5 separate regions of the Homo sapiens genome follow, and regions 1, 2, 3 and 4 are each linked to region 5. Evidence: promoter capture Hi-C in human tissues and cell types (Jung and others, 2019). All regions are on one chromosome and are shown on one strand. Each heading gives the region's core, a stretch centred on a gene start or on the middle of the fragment in contact. The rest is flanking DNA. Distances are from core to core; before and after follow the strand shown.

Region 1 (3,520 bases), core at 421-2,920, 130 kb before region 5:
GGCCCGGATGATGAGCTGCTCCGTCCGGAAGAAAGGCCCAAAGTGCTGGTCAAAGTACTCTTTTTCCAGGCGAGCCTGGCTGCTGGGGGCTGACCAGAGGTCAACTGGATTGGTTGTGACCCGGACAAACACCAGGCCTGACGAACACGCAGTAATGAAGACCAGCGAGAAGAAAATGACACAGCCAGGGTTTCGGACGCAGAAAGACCCCCAGCGTGTGAACAGCCGCCTCAAGCAGCCCTCAAATGCTGCGCTGACAGGGTCACAGCAGGACGCCTCTCCTGGAAGAACGGGAGAGGAAGGGAAGGTGGAGGTTAAGAGCCAAGCCGTTCCTGAAAGTCGGAACAGGGAAAGCATTAGTTGCTATCTCATGGCAGGAATCAAGCCCACCTGGGGACACATATGAGACCCCTGCCCTCAGCTACCTATCTGCTCAGCAAAGCCACCTTTGTTGGCTGCCCTCAATGAGCGCTATTCCCACCCCACAGAGGAGATGCCGACACAGGAGCCTCTGAAGGGTGAGGTTCAACCCTGCCCTGCTATTCCCACTCTTGTCCTGCTGCTTTCGCGCCTCCCCAGCTATGATTAATTACTTGGTTCTGCTGTGCCACCCTGACTAGATGGTAGGGCCACAAAGGCAAGGACCATGTCTGCCTTGGTCGCAGCCGTGTCCTCGGCACTGGCACACCACCTCACCCACTGCTGCAACCCCACTGAGGAAACGAATGCTCTCATGACAGACAGCATCATCTGAACCCTTTTATTCATGGACAAATATGCCTACCTTTGTCACTTGCATTAACAGAAAAAGCTATATTGCTATCGATGGGAGTGTACTCGGAGACAAAATACCGTTTTCTGAAAAACAGAAGTGAAGAAATAGCATTAGTGGACTTCATCACAGTGAGGTTGTTTTTGGGACATTCCTGTAATCCCATGAAATGCTTTCTTCCTCCTCCTGGCCTCCTCCTCCCTAATTACTGCCTTCTTTCCCCTAAGTCCCCTTGCTCTGGGTCCCTCTGCTCACCAGTCTCAGGAGAAAATTTAAGAAGATGTTAAGAGAACAATTAATAAAGGATAATTTCACCTTGTGGCCCTCATTTTATTTAAAACTTTTAGGTCCTTTAAAAACACACTACTGGGCTAGGCGCGGTGGCTCACGCCTGTAAACCCAGCACTTTGGGAGGCCAAGGTGGGCGGGATCACGAGGTCAAGAGATCGAGACCAACCTGGCCAACATGGTGAAACCCTGTCTCTACTAAAAATACAAAAAGGTTAGCTGGGTGTGGTGGCACGTGCCTTGGGAGGCTGAGGCAGGAGAACTGCTTGAACCAGGGAGGCGGTGGTTGCAGTGAGCTGAGATCGCGCCACTGCATTCCAGCCTGGTGACAGAGCAAGACTCCATCTCAAAAAAACAAACAAACAAACAAAAACATGCTACTCTTTCCAGCAGCAATGAGCATACCTAGTGCCCAGATCTTCGTTTCTACATACCATTCTCCAATAAAAGGAACCAGAGCTCCTTGCAGGGCAGGGACAGGGAATATGTAAGATAAAGCTGGGGATGGGAGGTGTATGTAAGAACACAGAAGCCAGCCAGAAGGCACTCCCAATGGCCCAAAGTGGAAAACTTTGAGTAACAAGATAAATGACAGTGTTGGATACAACCCACAGAATTAAAAGTCCATGATGTAAATAACTGAGTAAATAAATGAGGGAGAAGGGATAGCTTTCTGTACAGAAGTCCAGTTAGTAAATGCAGAGGAAGAGAGGGAAAGAGAAAAAAATCACTATCAGGCAAACACCTTAGTTATAACTGTTGCAGACAAGACCCAACAATGAATGCTAAAATCAGTGGTTGAGTTTCAGGAGGAACAAAATATTAGTATAGTCTCAAAGCATCTTCCCCCAAGATATTTATCAATTACGAAGGGAAAAGCAGTAACTTCACAGTGGAGATAGCCAGCAGACATCACCTTGAGCAAGTGATCAAGGTTAACATCACCAGGAAAGAGACGCATCAACATCAGGGATCCCTGACATGATGCACCGAGAAAGACATAACATGACTTCTGTGATGTACTTGTCAAAACACCTTATTTCAATCTCATCATGAGAAAATACCAGATAAAGCCAAATGGAAGGACATGCTACAAAATACCTGACCAGTATCATCAAGAGTGTTAAGGCCAGAAAAGGAAAGACTGAGGAACTTTCTGTCACAGATTAGAGGGGACTCATAAAACACAAAAATGTAATATGGGACCTTGAAACAGGGAAGGGCATTAGAGAAAAAGCTGGTGAAATCTGATTAAGATCTCTGGTTTAGCTAATAATAATGTAATAATAATGGCATGGTCGTGGTTTTGATCATTGTACTATGAGTTTTTTTTTTAATTATTATTATACTTTAAGTTTTAGGGTGCATGTGCACAACGTGCAGGTTTGTTACGTATGTGTACGTGTGCCATGTTGATGTGTTGTACCCATTAACTCGTCATTTAGCATTAGGTATATCTCCTAATGCTATCCCTCCCCCAGGCCCCCACCCCACAACAGTCCCCGGTGTGTGACGTTCCCCTTCCTGTGTCCATGTGTTCTCATTGTTCAATTCCCACCTATGAGTGAGAACATGCGGTGTTTGGTTTTTTGTCCTTGCGATATTTTGCTGAGAATGATGGTTTCCAGTTTCATCCAAGTCCCTACAAAGGACATGAACTCATCATTTTTTATGGCTGCAGAGTATTCCATGGTGTGTATGTGCCACATTTTCTTAATCCAGTCTATCGTTGTTGGACATTTAGGTTGGTTCCAAGTCTTTGCTATTGTGAATAGTGCCGCTATAAACATACGTGTGCATGTGTCTTTATAGCAGCATGATTTATAATCCTTTGGGTATATACCCAGTAATGGGATGGCTGGGTCAAATGGTATTTCTAGTTCTAGATGTACTATGAGTTATGTAAGTTGTATCATCGGGGAAACTGGGTTAAGGATACACATAAATTCTACCATTTTGCAACTTTTTGGTTAAGTCTACAATTATTTCAAAATAAAAAGTAAAAAAAGTACTGTCCTAAATTAAGATGCAAATATCTAAAAGGACTATAGTACTCCATTTAATTAGATTTGAATCTGATTTCGCTCATTTGACTCTGACTTTTTTTTTTTTTTTTTTTTTTTTGGTGAGACACAGTCTCGCACTGTCGCCAGGGCTGTTTGCAATGGACTCCTGACCTCATGATTCTCCTGCCTTGGCCTCCTAAAGTGCTGGGATTACAGGTGTGAGCCACTGAGCCTGGCCTTGACTCTGACTTTCTAAAGAATGAGTGGCCGGCTGGGCACGGTGGCTTACTCCTGTAATCCCAGCACTCTGGGAGGCCAAGGCGGGCAGATCACCTGAGGTCAGGAGTTGGAGATCAGCCTGGCCAACACGGTGAAACCCCGTCTCTACTAAAAATACAAAAATTAGTCAGGCATGCAGGCATGGTGGCGGATGCCTGTAATCCCAGCTACTCAG
Region 2 (3,614 bases), core at 468-2,967, 140 kb after region 5:
GAGCCTTTAATGCAAGCTTTCATGAGGTGTCTCAGGATCACAACGACAGCATGATGCTCTGGATAATTAGTTGTTATCTTCCTCTATGTCTTACTTGTGTTCTTCAAGTAAGATTCACAAAGCACTTTGCACACCATAGCTGGCTTAGGAGTGGCTACCACCCTCCAGCATGTGGGAATGTTGATGCATGCCCAAGTCAATGCCCTCAAGGTCAGTCATACATCTGGTGGGAGGAAGAGCTTAAAATAGAAGCCAGGTTTGTGGACCTTTGTTTCTTCTCTTCCCCATGCAGATGAAAATTTATTGCTTAATTCTTGTAGCAGACACTTAATAAGAGTTTATTGAAGGATGATGAATGAATGAGTGAACTGAATGACTGAGAGTCTTTGGGGATGTACTTTGATATTCCGTTTGATGTTCTCAGTTGTAACTATTGATTCCATTGTTGTTGCTGTTGTTGAAGTTGCTTACTCTACCAGCATTTGCCAGTGACCAGATTCCCCTGTACCCTGGCTTGTGAGGCCAGACACTTCCTGCTTGATGGGGAGCCAAGACCCGTGGCAGTGAGGCAGCCCACACCTGCACACCCTGTCATGGTGGACCTCAGCGGGAGAGAGGTGGGCCAGCCTTTTATTTATTATCAAAGTTATTACTACCTCCCCATCTGTATCTGCTAAAAATACTTGGCCACAGTTGCTTCTCAAATTCAGGGGAACCTGGAAGAATTTCTCAGAGGTGTTTATCAACATTTGCTGAACTATCTGATTTAGGGTGGGGCTGGATGGTACGCTACATGGAGCCATGTTCAGGTTGTTCTTTGAGCACTTTCTAGACATGGCAGGGGATGTGGGCATCTATAGAATCCTTTCTTTTTGGTTATCTGGACTTAGAAGGGGGCATCCTGTTCTACATGATTCAGGGCAAGATTTCTCTTAAAAGACAGATGAGACTCAATCTAGTAAGCGTCCAGAAATGACACAGCTTACCCTAAAAGGATACCACACTCACTGACTGTTCAACCCCTTAGGCTAAGCAATTTGTAGCAGCTGAATTCCTTGAGCTCAGAATCCGGAACTTCTACATCCCCTGGCACCTACCTCATGGCTTGGAGGACAGGTTACTACAGGTCTTGGTATTACTTTTCTTCCAGGAGTTCTTCGAACTTCAGAACCAAATTTAAGATCATACTGATTTCAGATTCGAGTTAGAGCTATAGGATATCAACCATAACAATAAGAATACACAACACTTCAAAATGAAGACACTGAAAGACTTCCTCCACTATATTTTTATTCTTTGCTCTCTGTAACATTCTCTGTTTTGTCCTTTTGAGGAAAATATTCATTTGGGGGATTAAATTTGTGGGATGAAAATATATGTGGAGTTAATTGTAACTGAACTTTTAGATGTGTACATTTTTGTAAACTACATTTCTAACATTTTGAAGGTAGCAGTTAAAGGTTTTTAAGTATATTTCTTAAGTAAAGTCTTCATTTTATTTGAATTTTCATGCTACGAAATAATATTTACTTGTAACAAGTAAAACAATATAGATATGCATAAAAAACCTAAATGATCTTCCCTCTACTTCATTCTAATACTAAGTTTGCTGTATCCCTCCCTACACATGCTATGTGTGTATACACACATACACACATACATGTATATAGGTGTACATACATACATATATACATAAAATGCACATACACGTACATATACAGGTATATGTATGTGTGTGTGTATTTGTGTGTGTGTGTTCCCTAGACAACAAGAGGTACCGTTGAGAAGGGGCAACCACCAGGAAGTGATGCTGATGACTCATCTAGGAGGTTCTAACCTCTGATTTAACCCAGAGCTATAGCACAGAGCTAGTCAGCAGGACCTCAAGGCTCTTTTACAATACGGAAATATTTTATTTCACTATCTCTGGTCTAGAAATTATCCAGCTTATTGATTCAGTTTAATTTATACTTTTAAAACTTTTCAATTGGCTCTTTATCATATTTATTTTTTCTTGTCTTTTCTGCCAGTTTTTGTTTCAAAACTTCATGTACTTTTAAGTGGAAGTTACTTCTTCATTTAGCTTTTTTAGTATCCTAAAGGCCTTGGAGCCAGGTGTATTTCAGAATTCAAAATTTTTAAGATTTGAAAAAAGATAACATCTCCAGTGAGGTCTGGGATAATACCCTATAATCAAACAGGTTAATATTTCTCCAGTGAAAAGCATGAATAGGCACACCTAGGGAGACACTAACTGACTATATACATAGACTTATATCAGTTTAGTTCAGACTTTGCCAGCAAATGATTATTGGTTAGGTTAGGTTTGCCACCAAAACAGTTACAAAACCTATTTCCTTTTCAGAGTTTGGGGATTTCAGATCATGGGCCAGTATATTTAAAGTCTTTCTCAGACTATTCCATAAAATTCACCTCATCTGAAGTGAACTCATCTCTGATTATTTTGTTACCTGTCTTTCTTAATATTCAATTTATGTGTTTTGAATTTTGTTTACAGGCATATTGGCTTATTTTGAATGAGAGGTTTTTATCCTCTCCTTCTTTCGCATCTGTTTCAGCCTGCTAATTTTGCATTGTCTTAGCTGTCCACTGGATCCTTAGCCCAGGAGCAGGCATTACAGTGTGCCTTCTCTATTGTTATGACACTGAAGATAGGAGATTCAGACATTGACCCCATGAATGGCATAGCTCAGTTCTTGGTCATGAGGCCACATATTTGATTTTTGGTTCCCAAATTCCATAGCTTCTTTTAAAAATTTATTTAGTTTTATATATTTAGGGGTACAAGTACAAGTTTCTTATATGCATATATAACATAGTGGTGAAGTCTGGGCTTCTAGTGTACCCATCACCCAAATAGTGAACATTGTACCTAATAGGTACTTTTTCAACACCCCCTCCCATCCCTCCACTTTTCATAGTCTCCAGTGTCTGTTATTACACTCTGTATGTCCATATGTACCCATTGCTTAGCTACCATTTATAAGTGAGAACATGCAGTATTTGACCTTCACACAGCTTCTTATAAATCCATAACCCAGGAGGCAGATTGGAAGCAATTTTTAGCTTCTTTTTAAATTTGAACATCCTTGTCTTCAAAAAATGTGCCTCGATCTGGCCGCTGTCTCCTATGGCACATGTTTTATTCTCTTAACTCTGCATGAGCTAAACTGCTGACCAAAATAATCTGCTTCCAGACCTAGAGGACAACAGGCTTGTGACTTCAGTCCTGGTGCCATTTTGGGTTTTTCTTTAACTTATGTTTTATCACCTATTACTTTTGATTCTAAATATATCTTTTTGTTGTTCTTTTAAAACGTTTTATCCAGAGTTGGTCTCTCTTGGAGCAGGAGTATAGTGAATGTGAATTCTCTGTGCCATCTGAACCAGAAGTCACCCATCTTTAAAAAATGCTAACCTGTTTTTATTAAAATCCTCCTCTCTCTCCCTCAGCTCAGCCACTACACCATACTCCTCCCCTTCACAACAAAACTCCTCCAAAATATTGTCTACACTCTGTGTTTCTAATTCTTTATGCCCTACTCACACCTCAACCCACTTCAGTCTGGCTTTCACCTCCCACTCCATTAAAT
Region 3 (3,689 bases), core at 991-3,490, 200 kb after region 5:
GGCTGTAGTGAGCCGAGATTGTACCACTGCACTCCAGCCTGGGCGAGAGAGCGAGACTCCATCTTAAAAAAAAAAAAAAAAGAAAACAAACAGAAACCGTCTTTCCAAGTTGTATACTTCCAGGCTTTTCCTTTCCCTCTTTTCTTTTACTGTTCATTCAGTGGCTAAGCAGCTACTTTTCGAGCACCCATGACAGGGCCAGGCCTCAGCCCTATCTATGTGATGAGGAAGCTGAAGGAAGAAGACAGAGGCAGTCCCTGTTCTCCTGGGGCTTGACCTAGAGTGTGGCAGGGAGGGAGAGAAAGGGTGGGAGTCATCACACTCAATAAATACACACACTAATCAGTAAGAGGTATAACTGGAGATAGAGATGACATTTTCTGCAATAGGCTGTGTCACTGACAGTGAGGGGGTGGCTGCTTTAGAGGGGTGGCCAAGGAGGCCTGAAGTTAGAGGAAGCCATGGCAGTATTTTGGCCACGAGGCTCCTAGACAAGGATGAAACAGAAGGAAAAGGCCTGTGACAATGTGTTCAAGGGCAGTGAGAAGGCAGGAGTGGCAGAAGTGCAGTGTGAAGAGGGCCAGAGGTGAGGTTGGTGGAGCAACCAGGACCCAGATCCTGCAGAACCCTGCAGGCTGTGGTCAAGCATCTGGATCTTATCCTCAGTGCGATGGAAATTTTGGGGCAGTTCTGAGCCACTGAGTGATCTGAGCTCTCATTCAGCCTCCAGAGTGACCAATAGACTACATAGGTAGGAATCCACCACTGTGTTTTCAAGGTAACCCCCTCTCTCCTTAAGTGTGGCACTTTGTCATATCCTTACTCATCACAAAGGGTTCACTGTGGGCCCAAGCAAAGAATGATGTAACAAACTAAGTGAAGCAAGAGTTGTTCTGAAAATCAAGAAGATACTGAGAACATCTCACTAGTACATAGACTCAGAAACAAGTGTGGATCACAAAGGCAGGCCTATATCAGCCCTTAACAGACACATGGGCCAAGTCCTAACATCACCAGAAGTCATGTGCCAAGTGTGGCTTCTCTGGAGAGACCTATTTGGAATGCTCACCCTGCTTTGCTGTCTATGTCTTTGATGCTCGTGAAGCCCGCCCCATCCTGCAGCTTTATTTGTCAAGGGATCAATCACATGAGCTTGCCCAGACTTGTTTGAAGAGAAGCTGGCAAAAGTAGAAAGCAGCGAGATTTCCACTGGGGTGCTTGGAAAAAGTTTTTCATTTTCATTTGCAAAGCGTAGTAGCATCAAGGTCAGCTTCCAGCTTCCATAAGTTGAAGTAACACGTAGGTCTTTGAATTTATCAGTAAAACTCTATTTGTATCTATTTCTCCTTCCTGCAATATTAATAGTGCTGACCAATGTCTAACTGTCTTTTGAGAGGCTTCCTAAACAGGCATTCTCTTACCAGCAAATGGAGTGATATTCCCTCAGATGTCATCAGTGTCATGTCCAGTGGCAGACAACAGGGCTTTTTCATGGTCTCTTTGGTGTGTGTGTGTGTGTGTGTGTGTGTGTGTGTGTGTGTGTGTGTGTGTGTGTTTAAAGCTGCTTCTAAAATATCATCACTTATTGCTTCTCAGCCTTTTGGCTAAAATCAAGTGTAAAATATCACCACTTTAGAGCTAAAAGAAAAGGGATCAAAATTCCACAACTTGGTTTGAAAAAAAAGTGAGAATCAGCAATGATTGTGCCCACAGAAATGCCGAGGCAGGCGAGTGGTCTCTGTGCATCTTTAGGGGGCTCCAGGGCCTGGCCTCCCCACCAACTTTTCTTCCCAGAAGGCAATGTGCCTGATAGAAAAGAACTAGAATCAACAAGGAGAACGTTTTTTTTTAAAGAATCAGAACTCTCTGTTCTTTTTTCTGCCTAGACTTGTTTTACTCCTTCCTTGTTATTCCTGGAAAAATGCTGTTGTAATCATCTCTTCCAAAGTGAGTTACTCTGCTCTGTCTTAAGGGGAAAAAATGCTCTTCCCCAAGGAACAAATAAAATAAATGCCTTCAGTCCTTGTTCACCAAAATTGCCCTGTGTCGGCTGAGATCATTCATCATTATCTCTCCAAGTCTTGATGGGCAAAATTTTCTTCACACAAAGTAACCAGACCCTGGGTTTCAGTGCTCACTTAATACAAGCCAGTCCTTTGTGGTAAAAAATAAGCATAAATCCTATCGATCTGTGTTTTTGATGGGGCCTTTTTCTGTCTTCTTTCAAGCTTTGCCACTGGCTGTGTGGTGAATGGGGGAGACGTGCGGTGCTCCTGCAAAGCTGGGTACACAGGAACACAGTGTGAAAGGTAAGGTGGGCGCCCCTCCCGCCTCAGCCTGCAGAGGGGGCGGGGAGGGCTGTGGGTGGGGCTGCCAGGTGCTGGCACAGAGCTAGGGGTGGGGCTGGGAGTTTGACTGAGGCCTGGAAAAAGGTCTCTTGGGAAAAATACAAGACTGCTCACCTAATAAATCATTAATATCATTCTCTTTCCTGCTTTGTACGTTTCAGAAAACTGAGAATGAGGCACAACGCATACACTCACCCACAAGTAGCTCTACCTACATCCCCCCAACACGCACCCCTGTGTACCTCAACCCCCGACACCTCCCTACCTACCCCTCCTCCACAATGATCTCTGCATACCCCCTATTTCGACATGTCCCTTCCACATATCTCCACATACACCTGCCCTCAACGTATCCCTACTTACCTGTACACATGTACAACTGTCTACACTCTTCCGTACACACACATATCCACAGCCCTAGCCTAGATAGCCCCCCCACCCCCCCACCCCCACCCCCACCCCACACACACCCCTCTATCCCCACACTATATTTTGAACACTTTCAGGACAATCTATGTCTTGTTTATTTCGGAATCCCTGGTTCCAAGAATGGTACTGTTCACATAATAGGTGTTCGGTAATGTTTGTGAAACAAAATAATAAATGTTGTGGAATGGAAACTGTAAAATTAATGACAAAGGGCTGCAGAACCAAGCTTTAGTTATTCATGGACAATTTTCATGATTAGCCACTATGCATAGGACACTGCCAAGTACTGAGAAAGATATAAAAGATACTTATAACCTAGCTGAGAAGAAAGCACACACATATTTGGGAAAGTAACAGTATGAAAAATGAATCATATGGTTTACATATTTTAAAATTTAAAATAACTTTCTCATAAAATCAATACATATTTATTATAAAATGATGAAAAACAAACGAGCAGAGAACCAGTGAGGGCCCCCCTACAACCTAGCCCTGTGCACTCAAACGCTTTCACATACAATCCTATTCATAATCATTTTGTCTACAGAAAGCCACTGTTAAAAAGCTGGCTGTTTGTTCCTACAAATCATTTCTAAATGTGTGAACCCTTAAAAAAAAAAGTAGATTCCTGTTTTACTTTCTGTTTTGACTTGTTTTCTTATCTAATACTATGTTAGTAATATCTCTCCATATCAGTAAGTATTCACTGATAACATCACATCAATGACCAAAAATTTCCACTGGGTTTCCATTATCTCCTACTCTTGGTCTTGGAGATCCTTTTACTGTTCTGCATTTAAAGCAACACTAAAATTAAATCCTTGCAGCTTAATATTTGTGTATGCATATCCTCAAGGTATAATTGTAAAAGTGGATTCTTTGGGTCAGAGGATAGGTTTTCCAGGCTTTTAA
Region 4 (3,857 bases), core at 347-2,846, 160 kb before region 5:
TATCTAAGTAGAGAAAGTGTTTTCCGCTCATATCCTGGGTCCACATCGAAGAATTCAGTCCTTGTGGATGAACTGTAAACAGCACCCTTCCTCTAAGATGCCGAAGATCATAGTTTGTGGTTTTTTTCTTTCAGGCGGTGGAAGCAGGGCAGAGCCGAAGCAGCCCGCTCCTCAAGAGGCCGGTGCGGACCCAGGCGGTGCTGGACCAGTCAGATGTGTACACCCATGTCCTGTCAGCCTTTGTGGAAAAGAAGGTGGGCTGCAGCTTTCCGCCTCTTCTGGACTGAGAATGCTCAAAACAAGGAAGTTGCTGAAAACGAGGAGACTTCATGTGATTAGAGTCACTTGAAGTGATTAGAATCACTGGAGTTTCCTTGGGTGAGGCCCTAGAGCTGGTAGTTTGGCTTCTAATGCTGAGGCCTAAAGCATAATTGTTGACGGGTGGTTCTGGAGCGATGTGTGCAAAACCAGTGAAAGATGAACACTGGGCCATTTTAAGATGGAAACAAGGTGGGGGTTGGATAGAGAGTTATATGCAGCCTCTTTTGCACCTCGTTGGTATTTGTAAGACCACATTTTTTTCTCCCTAGGAGATGCCTCATAAATTTGTGATAGCCGTGCTGATGGAATACATTCGTTCTCTTAACCAGTTTCAGATTGCAGTACAGGTACCTTCAAATCATCTGGGCCCAAGTTAAAACAGAAGGAATTTAAAAAAAAAACACAGTCACTGTCTTAGAAGATGACTCATATGCTAAGACAGGTCTGCCTCCCTGACTCAGAATGCTGAGTGACTCCTGACATTATTAGTTGGAATGGGAAGTGTAAGGTCAAGTTGGGGTCTTTACCTGCATGACGAAACCACTTCTTGTAATGACAGACTTTTACTGTGTTGGTTAGAATAGCCAGTCCTTGGGGAGCCTCTAGTCTGTTGTAGCTGAATGATTTGGAAGTGTTCTTTCACTTTTTACTTTTGTCCTCAGCATTACCTACATGAACTTGTTATCAAAACCCTTGTCCAGCACAACCTCTTTTATATGCTGCATCAGTTCCTGCAGTACCACGTCCTCAGCGACTCCAAACCTTTGGTATGCATTGCCAGATTTTTACTTCCATTGTGGTTAAAAATGGAAAATTTTAACCGTTATCTTTCCAACTGAAGTGGGTCTAAAAATGTCTTTCAGGCTTGTCTGCTGTTATCCCTAGAGAGTTTCTATCCTCCTGCTCATCAGCTATCTCTGGACATGCTGAAGGTAACTCTGATGTGTGAGGTTTTAGACTATGGAAACTAACTCTGTTCCTGTTGTTTGCACTGACCTGGACTTCTCTCCCTTACTGCTAGCGACTTTCAACAGCAAATGATGAAATAGTAGAAGTTCTCCTTTCCAAACACCAAGTGTTAGCTGCCTTAAGGTTTATCCGGGGCATTGGTGGCCATGACAACATTTCTGCACGAAAATTTTTAGATGCTGCAAAGCAGACTGAAGACAACATGCTTTTCTATACAATATTCCGCTTTTTTGAACAGCGAAACCAGCGTTTGCGAGGGAGCCCCAATTTCACACCAGGTGAGAATGCAATGAAAAGACTTGGGGTAACCATAGCCTCAAAGAGTAGCAGAGGGCACTGGCAGCTGGTGGGCGAGGACCCTGGGTTAGCATTTTTGTAAACAACACAATTTGATAACAGCCCACCTAGCCCTTGGCCCATTATTTGTAGTAGAGTGAATTCAGTATACTGACAGAATCTGAATTATGCTCTGGAACTCACCGAGGAGGTGTGTTTTGAGTCAAGACACATTTAGGACCCAGATCAGGCACAGCCCATCTCTTATAGCAGATCTTGGAATATCTCTTAAAGCCAGGAATAAGACGGCAAATGGTGGCTAAGGGTTTTAAAGGGTCTGGGGCTTATTAAGGTTTCAGTTTTATGAAGTATACATTGGTTGATCATTCTCATTTTTTTTTTGAGACAGAGTCTCGCTCCGTTGCCCAGGCTGGAGTGCAGTGGTGTGATCTCGGTTCACTGCAACCTCCGCTGGGTTCAAGCGATTCTTCTGCCTCAGCCTCCTGAGTAGTTGGGACTACAGGTGCGTGCCACCACACCCGGCTGATTTTTGTATTTTTAGTAGAGATGGGGTTTTACTATATTGTCCAGGCTGGTCTCAAACTCCTGACCTCATGATCCGCCTGCCTCAGCCTCCCAAAGTGCTGGGATTACAGGTTTGAGCCACCGCACCTGGCCCTGGTTGATCATTCTCATCTCCAAATAGTTATACAACCTAAGACATCATCTTTAGGATAGGGAAGGATCAGGGCTGTCTAATGAAACTTCTAGGTCTATTTCTAGCTCAATGTAAGACGGCATTTAGTTACCATAAGGACAGGTTAGATAGAATCTCTTCCATTTAGCTTTTGTATTTGTCTCTCAAAGCAGATAGGGTAACCCCAAAACTTAGGAAAACAATGTATTTTATTAAAGAAAAATAAGTTAAAACCCAGTAGACACACCTACGAGATGCTTTCTTTGTCCCTCATTTCATGCCACATCTAACTGGCAATTAAATCTCTTCCTTTCTAGGGGAACACTGTGAAGAACATGTTGCTTTTTTCAAACAGATTTTTGGAGACCAAGCTCTAATGAGGCCTACAACATTCTGAAATCACTTGCTGTTTTTTTATATAAAAATGTGTACAAAGTTAATTTATTGCATTAATAAAGCTCTTTAAACTATAAAATGTTATAAAGTGTATCTACAACCTCAACTGTCACTAAAAATATGGTATAGAACTTGTGGGATGGCTTACTCCTAAAAGGAGAGACAGACAGTGCATTGATTGGCCTTTACAGAGTGTCAGTGAGCGGATCACATTCACAGCCATCTAGTGTCACCTCCTGCTTGCCAAAGAATGAGGTTTCTTTCCTGAAGAGGCTGGGAGAAGTTTAGTGTCCTGTGGTTGCCTCCAGATCTAGTAATACTGCTTCCCAAGTCAACTGTGCATTCCTGAGTTCACAGGCGCTACGTTCAAAGCTGCTGCCAAACAACCGATGGTTGGCACCATCCGGTGTTCAACTTGGCCTTGCCGATGCAGCACCCGTCCAGTGGTAAACCGACCGACCCTTAGACACAGTTCAGTCAGGATGCCCTGCGAGAGGGCTAGAAATTTAGAAGCCGTTCGCGCTCTGTTCCTTTGTATCGCTCTTCAGTGGCACAACTTTTGGCTTTATTTACTGATGGCCCTATGAGAGAGAGAGACTTTTTCTTATTTCTGCAGGAGAAAGGGAGCTAGTTGGCTGGGCATAGTGGCTCACGCCTGTAATCCCACTTTGGAAGACTGAGGCAGGAGAATTGCTTGAGACCAGCCTGGACAACAGAGTGAGACCACATCTCTCTCCCTCTCTTTTGGAGATGGGCTCTTTGCTTTCTTCCTCAGGCTGCAGTGCAGTGGTATGAACACGACTCACTGCATCCTAAGCCCACCCTTCTGGGCTCAAGCAAGCTTCCTGCCTCAGCCTAACAAGTAGGTGGGACTGCAGACGCACACCACTTCACCTGGCTAATTTTATTTTTGTAGAGATGGAGGCCTCACTATGTTGCCTAGGCTGGTCTCAAACGATTCTCCTGTCTCAGCCTTCCAAAGTGCTCATCTCTTTTTTTTTTTTTTTTTCTTAAAAGGAACTAGTATATTAGATTGTAATAGAACTACTTTCTATCCCCCGGAGATGATAAAAAGCCCCTCATTTTCTTAATCTTCTACTTCAGTGCTTCAATTTAGTGACAAAGCTATAAATGAAGCAAATCAGTATTGTTCTTTCAACCGTGGGTCATTTTTGTGCAAGGTGAAGTGGCCATAGAA
Region 5 (3,991 bases), core at 1,394-3,893:
CTTCATTTCTTTTTATGTGTGACAGATATTCCATTGTATGGATATACTACATTTTGTCTATCCATTCATCAGTTGGGGAACATTAGGTTGTATTCATTTTTTTATTATATGACTAACGCTGCTATAAACATTTATGTACAAGTTTTTGTGTGGATATATATTTTCAGTTCTCTTGAGTATGTTCTTAGGATTGGAATTGCCAGATCACATGGTCATGTTATGTTTAAGTTTTTGAGGAATTGCCAAAGTGTCTGCACCATTTTACATTCCCATCAGTAATCTGTGAGGGTTCCAACTTCTCCACATCCTCACAAATACTTGTTATTATCTATCTTTTTGATTATAACTATCCCAGTGTGTGTGAAGTAGTATCTCATTGTGGTTTTGGTTTGCATTTTCCTGATGGCTAATGATGTTGAGCGTCTTCCATGGTCATGCTTATCGACCATTTTTATATTTGCCCACTACTTTTTAAAAAATGGTTGAGTTGTAAGAGTTTATTCTGGATATGAATTTCTAATTAGATATATGGTTTGCAAATATTTTCTTCTATCTTGCGGATTGTCTTCTACTTTCTTTTTTTTTTTTTTTTTGAGATGGATTCTCAGTTTCCCAGGCTAGAGTGCAGTGGCACAATCTCAGCTCACTGCAACTTCTGCCTCCTGGGTTCAAGTGATTCTCCTGCCTCGGCCTCCCTAGTAGCTGGGATTTCAGGTGTGCACCACCATGCCCAGCTAATTTTTGTATTTTTAGTAGAAAATTTCATCATGTTGGCCAGGCTGGTCTTGAACTCCTAACCTCAGGCGATCAACCCATCTTGGCCTCCCAAAGTGCTGGGATTACAGGCATGAGCCACTGTGCCTGGCCATCTTTCGCTTTCTTGAGGGTGCCTTGGAAGCACAAAAGTTTTAAAATTTGGTAAGTTTCAATTTATCTTTGTGTGTGTGTGTGTGTGTGTTTTGAGACAGATTTTTGCTCTGTTGCCCAGGTTGGAGTGTAGTGCCATGATCTTGGCTCACTGCAACCTCCGCTTCCCGGGTTCAAGTGATTCTCCTGCCTTGGCCTCTGGAGTAGCTGGGATTACAGGCACATGCCACCATGCCTGGCTAAGTTTTGTATTTTTAGTAGATACAGGGTTTCACCATTTTCCCCAGGCTAGTCTTGAACTCCTGACCTCAGGTGATCCACCCACCTCGGCCTCCCAAAGTACTAGGATTACAGGCATGAGCCACCGTGCCCGGCCCAATTTATATTTTTCTTTTGTTGCTTGCGCTTTTGATATCATAGCTAAGACAGCATTGCTAATCCAAAGTCATGAAGATTTTCTCCTGTGTTTTTCCCTTAGAATTTTATAGTTTTAGCTTTATAGTTTAGCTCTCTAAATGTAAAATTTAGAGATCTTAAATCCATTTTGAGTTAATTTTTGCATATAGTATGAGGTGGGGATCCTACTAGATTATTTTGGGATGTCCAGTTTTCCCAGCAGCGTTTATTAAAAATATTATTCTTTTCCCATTGAATAGTCTTGGCACCCTGTTGAAAATCCAGTGACCATAAATGTAACGGTTTATTTCTGAGCTCTCAATTCTATTCCATTGATCTATGTTTATCGTTATGTCGGTACTACACTGTCTTGATTACTGTAGTTTTGTATTAAGTTTTAAAACTAGGAAGCGTGAGTCCACTGACTTCATTCTTTCTCAGAATCGTTTTGGATTTTCTAGGTCTCTTGCATTTCCACATGAATTTTAGGATCAGCTTGTCAATTTCTGAAAAAAAAAAAAGTCGGGATTTTGATCCCTATCAAAATCCATTGTGTTGAATTGTAGGTTGCTTTAGGAAATATTGCCATCTTCACAATATTGTCTCCTAATCCATGAACATGGGAGGCTTTTCCACTCATTTAGGTCTTTTAACATTTCTTTCAAAGAGGTTTTGCAATTTTTATTGTACAAATATTGCATTCCTCTAATTTCTTCGAGGGCCTATGTGGGTTCTGTTTTAGTAGGGTGTTCTGCATATAAGACCAAGCATCAGTCCGGGGTCGTGGGGGGAGGGGGTCTTCTCTGTTCTGAGGCCATCATGGCAGGTGGCGTACCTCACTCAATCTCTGTTAGCTTATTTGTAAAATTGAGCAGATTAGGCATCTAAAGGATTTCCTCTAAGGTTCCTTTCCAGGTTGGCAAATTACAACTTGCATTATTGGCTGTCTTTTAAATATGTACGTTCCACCACTCCCAGTTCCCTGGCTCAGCCTGTGGCTGCAGTGCCACAGGGATCCTAGGTGCACAGTGTTGAGGAGTTGACGACTCAACACTTGGCTGGGAAATCGAAATGTCTTTGATGTGAGTTCTGTAGGTAGTGGCAGTTTCCTCTGCTCTCAACCAAATTCGTTTACAAGCCTCCTTTACTCTTAGGTCACAGGTGGCTTTTCTGGCTTTGACCTGAGCGGTGAGTATCCAGAGAGGAGAACGATCTAATTAATTTCTGTCCTGGCGCCTGGAGGGTTCGAAGATCCCAGGCTCCCGTTCCCGCCGCCTGGGTGGGAGCCCGGGAACGCCTCTCCCATTCCCCGCCCGCGAAGTTTGCAGCGCGCCTCGCGCGGGAGAGACGCCGTCTGCTGGCGCGCGGCTGAGCGCTGTCAGTTCCTGATCCGGCTGGTGCCCGCTCCAGCCGCGGCAGGTTCCAGAGCTGAGAGGCCACCCCCACGCCGCGGGCTTCCAGCGCGTGGAGCAAGGGGAGCGGCCCCGGCGCCGCCCATATCCCCGGCTGCGCTAGTCCTGGCGCTGCAGGTCCGGGAGGCGCAGGCGGAGAGCGGCGGTGCCCCCGAGCCCCTCTGCGGACGGCTCAGGCGGGAGGACCCCGCGCGGCTGGATGGCGGCGGCCGCGCGGCCTCGGGGTCGGGCACTGGGGCCAGTACTGCCGCCGACGCCGCTGCTCCTGCTGGTACTGCGGGTGCTGCCAGCCTGCGGGGCGACCGCTCGGGATCCCGGGGCCGCGGCCGGGCTCAGCCTTCACCCGACTTACTTCAACCTGGCCGAGGCGGCGAGGATTTGGGCCACCGCCACCTGCGGGGAGAGGGGACCCGGCGAGGGGAGGCCCCAGCCCGAGCTCTACTGCAAGTTGGTCGGGGGCCCCACCGCCCCAGGCAGCGGCCACACCATCCAGGTGAGGGCCTCGGAGAGAGCCGGGGTGGGCGCGCCTTTTCCTTCCCGCGCCGGCCAGACACCCGGAGAAGGGATCGGGCCCTTTCCTCACGCGCGCTAGTGGCTCCGGGCGACTGGGAAGGGCAGCCCCCATCCCCGCGCGCGAGGGCCCACGACCCAGGAGCGATCTCGTGGAAGCACCGCACCGGCACCACCGGCCCGAGGCGAGGAGGGGGAGCACGCGAGGTGACATGAGGCTGTGGTCAGGTTCGGGCTGGTGGAGGGGAAAGTGTGAGGCTGCGCTCTAAGAGATGCAGGCGCCTCGGCCCTTCCCGCCTCCGTCACCCACGGAGCGTCCCGCCAGGCTTGAGTCCTCGAGGGTTCAGGGGCGCCTCCTGCCCCACCTCCCGGGCCTTATTCGGAGAAGTCGGTGGCAATTACCTTCTGTGGTGTATTTTAAGAGAGAATTTTTAGGTTATAACAGCGGTATCACTCTAATGTTACTGAAAAGATTCACTTCACTGCACTGCCTGAAGTGCCACCATCCAGTCATTGGGGGCGAATGAGACCTTAGGCGGACAGAGATAGAAAGGCTCTCAGAGATCCGAGCCTCACCGCGAACACCCGGGGCAAACGACATTGCGGTGCATGTTAAGCAGCATCTTGCAGTGCCTGGCCCTTACTCACAGGTCTCAGCCAGGCAAGAGTGCAGTGGTGCGATCACGGCTCACGGCAGCCTCGAACTCCTGGGCTCAAGGGATCCTCCCGCCTCAGCCTTGGGCGTAGCTGGGACTACAGGCGTGCCCCCCCGTGCCTGGCAATTTTTTTTTTTTTTTTTTGAGACA

The links. The method cuts DNA at HindIII sites, captures the fragments that hold promoters and counts their contacts. A contact is called where the count stands out against the background at its distance.
Region 1: a fragment that was not itself captured here is called in contact with the fragment with the promoter of LAMA3 in region 5 in 2 of the 25 tissues and cell types used here (adrenal gland and mesenchymal stem cells).
Region 2: a contact is called between a fragment that was not itself captured here and the fragment with the promoter of LAMA3 in region 5, in 3 of the 25 tissues and cell types used here (bladder, lymphoblastoid cells and mesendoderm cells).
Region 3: a fragment that was not itself captured here is called in contact with the fragment with the promoter of LAMA3 in region 5 in 2 of the 25 tissues and cell types used here (IMR-90 fibroblasts and mesendoderm cells).
Region 4: a fragment that was not itself captured here is called in contact with the fragment with the promoter of LAMA3 in region 5 in 1 of the 25 tissues and cell types used here (IMR-90 fibroblasts).

The regions. Positions count from the first base shown.
Region 1 is chr18:23,556,333-23,559,852 of GRCh38, forward strand. It overlaps NPC1 (NPC intracellular cholesterol transporter 1), which reads right to left. Exons shown (of 25, transcript NM_000271.5): 7 at 785-858; 8 at 1-281. Among named protein-coding and RNA genes, the nearest start is that of NPC1, 28 kb to the right of the region's middle. The HindIII fragment of the contact is 8,970 bases long and covers 1-3,520 here.
Region 2 is chr18:23,826,851-23,830,464 of GRCh38, forward strand. LAMA3 (laminin subunit alpha 3) reads left to right here. Exons shown (of 75, transcript NM_198129.4): 23 at 464-617. Among named protein-coding and RNA genes, the nearest start is that of LAMA3, 140 kb to the left of the region's middle. The HindIII fragment of the contact is 6,884 bases long and covers 1-3,614 here.
Region 3 is chr18:23,882,545-23,886,233 of GRCh38, forward strand. LAMA3 (laminin subunit alpha 3) reads left to right here. Exons shown (of 75, transcript NM_198129.4): 41 at 2,229-2,309. Among named protein-coding and RNA genes, the nearest start is that of LINC02958, 98 kb to the right of the region's middle. The HindIII fragment of the contact is 3,535 bases long and covers 474-3,689 here.
Region 4 is chr18:23,529,045-23,532,901 of GRCh38, forward strand. It overlaps RMC1 (regulator of MON1-CCZ1), which reads left to right. Exons shown (of 20, transcript NM_013326.5): 15 at 135-254; 16 at 591-668; 17 at 984-1,088; 18 at 1,185-1,253; 19 at 1,343-1,568; 20 at 2,581-2,778. The coding sequence ends at 2,660. It overlaps NPC1 (NPC intracellular cholesterol transporter 1), which reads right to left. Exons shown (of 25, transcript NM_000271.5): 25 at 2,398-3,240. The coding sequence ends at 3,158. Among named protein-coding and RNA genes, the nearest start is that of RMC1, 27 kb to the left of the region's middle. RefSeq lists an enhancer at 24-1,223. The HindIII fragment of the contact is 5,595 bases long and covers 1-3,857 here.
Region 5 is chr18:23,686,810-23,690,800 of GRCh38, forward strand. It overlaps LAMA3 (laminin subunit alpha 3), which reads left to right and starts at 2,644. Exons shown (of 75, transcript NM_198129.4): 1 at 2,644-3,168. The coding sequence starts at 2,875. RefSeq lists an enhancer at 2,003-2,552. The HindIII fragment of the contact is 10,376 bases long and covers 1-3,991 here.